Linked DNA regions of Homo sapiens: region 2 is linked to region 1. Evidence: promoter capture Hi-C in 16 types of primary human blood cells and fetal thymus (Javierre and others, 2016). All regions are on one chromosome and are shown on one strand. The core of a region is centred on a gene start or on the middle of the fragment in contact, and the rest is flanking DNA. Distances in the headings are between cores, read along the strand shown.

The links. Contacts are between HindIII fragments. The CHiCAGO score rates a contact against its expected background, and 5 or more counts as called.
Region 2: a fragment that was not itself captured here is called in contact with the fragment with the promoter of BARD1 in region 1 in 2 of 17 cell types (total B cells and non-activated CD4 T cells); the score reaches 7.3 in total B cells.

The regions. Positions count from the first base shown.
Region 1 is chr2:214,808,361-214,811,074 of GRCh38, forward strand. It overlaps BARD1 (BRCA1 associated RING domain 1), which reads right to left and starts at 1,323. Exons shown (of 11, transcript NM_000465.4): 1 at 1,052-1,323. The coding sequence starts at 1,209. SNHG31 (small nucleolar RNA host gene 31) reads left to right here and starts at 1,869. Exons shown (of 4, transcript NR_110292.1): 1 at 1,869-2,072. RefSeq lists enhancers at 262-311, 602-681 and a silencer at 1,232-1,801. The HindIII fragment of the contact is 4,673 bases long and covers 1-2,050 here.
Region 2 is chr2:222,861,767-222,864,480 of GRCh38, forward strand. All of the region lies in intron 1 of ACSL3 (acyl-CoA synthetase long chain family member 3), which reads left to right. Among named protein-coding and RNA genes, the nearest start is that of ACSL3, 2.1 kb to the left of the region's middle. The HindIII fragment of the contact is 661 bases long and covers 1,081-1,741 here.

The DNA.
Region 1 (2,714 bases), core at 73-2,572:
ATCGTGCCACTGCACTCCAGCCTGGGCGACAGAGCGAGACTCCGTCTCAAAAAAGGAAAGAAAAGAAAAAGTTGTGTTACTTATACTTTATGCAACTAGGTAACTTAAGTTCTGCAAGTTAGAAATCAAAGGGGAAAAAAGTCCAAAAAGGATATAAACTTTTGACAGCTACAAATAACAAAAAAACTGCCAGTGATCTTCATACAGAAATACTTAGCTGTACACACAGCAAGTGCTCAATAAAAATGCTTTTCAGAAGAAATGAAAATGAGACAAACCTTTCTTGGGTTTTACAAACCTTCTTGGTTTGTATACTAGAAAGAGCTACACGAAAAAAAGCAAGAAGTAACACTCATGAAAATGTCTTTGGACGGAATGAAAACCCTGAGAGGACTCCCATAATGTGACAGCATGAAGGAAAACAATAAACAGCATCACTAAGAGCGGGGACACCAGACATACAGTCTTTTGAGCAAACTAAGAAAATGAGAAATTCCGTGCCATCTTCAATCTACAACTATGGTAGATATCCGATGCTCCATCCCATCTCACTCGAAAAAGCTGGCACGGAGAAAATGTCAAAAAGGCCAGTTTAACTTAGAGTGGCAGCTGCTTCTAATTTAGAGGGTCTCCGGGGCGGCCCGCCAGCCCAATTCGCCACAGCTCCCGGAAAGCAGCGGGGTAATCCAGGGCCGGGTAAAAAATGCAGAAGCCTCAGCCCCACCCCAGCCCGATTCAAACTCTGGAGGCGCGACCGGGATGAACATTTTTTTAGCCACACCTCCAGACGGTTCTTCAGCCCGCTGAAGTTCAAAAACTACCGTTTCAGTTGGATTCAGGGCAAGGGGAGGCCGGTAAGTCGCCCAAAAATAAAGTGAATGAGAAGCAGAAGTTGTTAATACTATATCCCCCGGCAGGTGCTAACCGCACGCCGACCCGACTGCAGCGCGGGAACGGAAGGAGGAAACGGAAGATTTGAAAAGATTCTGCCGCCCCCAGAAACTGTGCGACCCGTGCCCTCGCAGCCACCCCCAAGAAGCTCCGTCTTTACCAACGCGAGCAGCGCAGCAGCTTCTCCAGGCGGTCGAGCGCGGCGCGACTGTGGGCCCAGGCACCGCGACCATCCGGTTCCATGGCGGGCGCGGAACGAGGCTCGTTCCCGGAGCGGATCCTCGGCTGCCGGTTCCTCGGCTGCCGATTATCCGGCATCGTCCCGCCTTCGGATGAAAGGCTCCTCGCAGAGCGGGAAGCAAGGAAGCCTCGGGAAACCACAGGGAAGCTGCAGGCCAGCGACTCGAAACCGGCCAAGCTCTTCCCGCGTCTGGGACGGCGGGCCGCCAGAGGGGCGGGGCGCGCGGGGAGGGGCGGGGCACGGCGGCCGCAATGCTCCCAAAATAGGGACTCGCAGGGCACAGGGGCGGGGCCGCGAGAGCCAGCCGCTGGCCGAGTGGGCGGGACCTAGGGGTGGGGCTGGAGGCTGAAACTTGCCAAAGTCCCGGCGTGTGGGACTTAGGGGAGGGGCCGCGAGAGCCGTGGGACCGAGGGGGCGGGGCCGGACGGCTGAAACTTGCCAAAGTCCCGGCGCGCGGGTCCTAGGGGCGGAGCCGCGAGAACACGCCGGGGACAGAGGGGGCGGGGCCTAGGAGCCTCGGGGCGGGACAGGACGGTCGAAACCGAAGTCCTGGCGCGCGGGGCCCAGGGGCGGGGCCTAGGGGCCTCGGGGCAGGACAGGACGGCTGAAACCGAGGTCCCGGCGCGCGGGGCCCAGGCGCCGTGCAGTGAGAGCACGCCGCTTGACCGAAGGGGCGGGGCCTGAAGGCTGAGCGCAGTCGCGAGGCTGTAGTTGGCAGGAGAGCGGGCGGGGCCTGAAGCCCCTCTGGGCTGCCTGGACGGATGAAGTCCAGGTGGAAAGCCAGTCGACGTTTCCCGGGAGCTACGACTCCAGGGACCCTCATCCGAGCTTAACCGTTGGAACAATCACAAACCCAGAAACTTTTAGCTGAGTGTTATTTATAAAAAGCGCTGTTTTGACTGCTGTTGGACTTGGAAAAGCTTTGCCCACGATACTGAAGGTACCACTCTTTGTTCCTAAGAAAGCAACCTTTTCTTTCCTCTCACCTCAGCTGTGGCGTATATTGTAACTGAGTAAAAATAAGGAAAGTTTCTAATTCTAACTAGTTAACAAATATCAGCTCAAAGGCATGTCTGAAAAGATCTGGTTTACTTTTAAAATATTGGTATAAAATTTCAAAAAGGGTTTTTTTTGTTAGAGAGTGTGTCCACCTTCCTCCTCCAGATCTTTCACTGATCGCCGTAATTTACAGATAAGACCTACAGAGCAACCCGTCATGCCTTCCTGCCGCGCCCCAAGTTCATTTCCAAGTCCTTGCATTTTTTCCCCCTAACTTGTCTCGAATGCACCCATTTTCTCTCCGTCTCTGCTCCACAACATCCCCAGTTGCCTCGTCCTCGCCTGGTTTCCTGTCGTAGCTTTCTAGCTGATATCCAAGTGTCTATCCAGGTCCCAGCCAGTCCCGAGACTGCGGTGTGGCCGCCTAAAACATTTCCAAACACAAAACTCATCGTGGCACTTCCCTTTCTTAAAACTCCTTAAAGTTTTTCTCTGCTCTTTGACTAGCCTCTTGTCAAAACCTCCTCTGGCCATCATGGTCCCAACCCCACAGTGCGTTCCCTTAGGTCATTAAAAGCCCCTG
Region 2 (2,714 bases), core at 161-2,660, 8.1 Mb after region 1:
TGATTGGTTCTGGGCACTATCGTGGTGGTGGGACTGGGATTAAGACTGTCGTTTGGGGTTTGAGAGTTGCAGCTTTGCTTTTCCCCAAGTGCGTTTTAATCATATACTGTTGATAGGTTGGGTAACTCGGGGACTGCTTACTACCAGCAGTCCTGTGGGGTAGGTGTTATCAGGCTCGTTTCACAGATGAGGAGCCCGAGGCACAGGTTTTCAAATGGTTTTCGCAGGAAGTCTGATACTAGAAAGTGTGCTCTAAGCTGCTGTATAAAAGATCCCTCGAAAATGAAAAGGCTGGAGGAATGTCTTTAAAATTATATGGAAGCTAGAAAGGCAGTAGGCTTTGTGAACGAAATTATAGCTGAAAAGAATGACAAATAGCTGACATTTATTGAGCTTTTATTACATGCCACGCACTGTTTGGAGAGCTTTATGTACAGTGTCTTCACACTGTTAACAGTCCTCTGGGGTGGGGGTTATTCCCATTTTACAGCGGGAGAAACTGCAGATTGGACGACTTAGCTTGCCTCAGATCTCAGCTAGTAAGAAGCTGGGATTCAGACAGGCCTGTGTAAATCCAGAGCTCTGAAATCTAAGCACTATATTTTGCTGCCTCTCCTTGGTGGCTGGCTGAATAGTTTCCACAGTGGATTTTAGTCTGGGTGGCCAGGAGAGTTGTAGTTTGATGATACCTTCTTTCATGTTTATCAACCTATTTTGTTTCCCCAAATTAGTTCTGAGAGTTAAGGGTGCTGATGAGTTGCTCCTGAAAGTGTATTAGAAGGGTATTATAGGGGACAGGTGGTGTGACATGGGAATCTTTTGCACAGACTTGATTTTGTTTTCTGGCATTTTTCTGGGCAGTTCCTCACACTTGGGGATGAGTAAGCCTTCTAATTGTCGCATGCGTTTTCTCTCTAGACTTTTCCTGGTTTCTCTTTTGTATAAAAATATTGGTTTTGTAGGATGACATTGGGTGTGGGGCAGAGTGGTCCATTGGACCTAAGGGTCAAGGTGACAAGTCACCTCGTATCTTTGGATCTCAGTTACTGAATTTGTAAGGCTTTAGACTCAGTGACTTAAAGCTTAAATATTCTGAGGGTCTAAAATGTTCTCCTTGAAGGAAGAAAGGAAGAATGGGAGAAATGAAGAACGCACAAATTATAAGGGGAAAATCATCCTCTGTCTGGTTTGGGGTGAGAATCAGATCTTAAAGCCTCGAGGTCTGTTTCATTTGCTTTTGTGTTTCCCTGCTGTTTGGTTCCAGTTAAGTGACTGTTTCATTCCTCATTTGATTAATTGACTCACCTAGAGCCATTTAATTTTTGTGATATGTCAGGCACCTTATTAGGTGCTGGGAATACAGCTGTGAATAGAGGGAAAAATAGACAAGAAGCAAATGGTCATACAAACGGATAGGTGGTTGCAAGTTTGATAGGTACGATGAAGGAAAAGTATTGTGTGAATGAGGATTATGAGCAAGATTGTGATGTAGATGGAAATCTAGTCTAGGGAGCTGTTTTTTGAATTGATGTGGTGAGATTTTGCTAGAGGACAGTCTTGAAATCTGAGCCTGCAATTATGTACATAATGCAAGAGTTTGGGAAGTTGTCAGCAACAATAATTCTTTTCATTGCACAGTGTATTTCATACTCAGAATGTCATCCCGGCTCTCATTGCAAGATACGAAAATGAGATAGGCAACTTTACAAGTTGTCATTCTGTCTGCCTTCAGGGTACTTAAAGCTTAAATAGTCCTCTAATACTTTCTCCCACTCAAAATGAACTGTAAGGGGGAGTAAGACTCTTTTATGTGAGATTTGGGCTTGAATATTGGATTTAGATTTTTTTTAGGAAAGCTAGGCCAAGGGTGATAGGCTTTTAAAACAACGAGCATCATAATGACTCAAAAGTATCCATTGTAGCATACGCTTCACAGGGTCATTTAACTTAAAAGTCTCATCATCTTAGGAGATCATTTTTTGATGGCTGGATTGGGAAATATAGATTGTTAAAAATATATAAATGTCTCAGTTGAACATGTATGAAGCCAATTCAAATAATACATTGCAATATATTTACTTAATGGCCATCTGCATGCAAAACACCGTCCTAGGGGTACCATGTGGCATAAATAAAAAAGATGAACTTGCCAAAGTTACTGCTTTCAAAGAGATTTCAGTTAATGTATACTAATACTCAAATTTAAGGTTTTTTTTTTTCAAAGTGCTAGCATATCTCATCTGATCCTTTTAAGAGCCATATATGATAAACAGAAATACTGAGAAAATGGAGATAAAAAATTGTCAGGATATGGTGATAAATAGTAAATGGAGTGGGAGAAAGAGGTGCTAAGTGATTACTAGGTTTCAGACCTATGCAACTAAAGAGGTATGTGTGCTATTCACTGAGCTGGGGCTTAACTGGTAGAGAACTAGGTTCTGGATATGGGAAGGGCATGACTTTAGTTTTGGAAGTGTTCAGCTGGAGCTGCCTTTGAGGCCTTTATTGAGGTACTGGTTTTGTGCTGAGAATTGGGGTGGCCATTTACCGTTTTGAAGACCTCCATGTAGAGGCAAGAGCTCAAACCATGGGTATGGGTGAGATTGCCTGTGGGGAGGCTATAGAATAAGAAGAGAAGGAGGCCTGGGATGGAGCTGGGCAGAGGAGGTTGAGCTTGTCAAGGAGACAAGAGTGGCCAGGAAGGTCAGAGGACA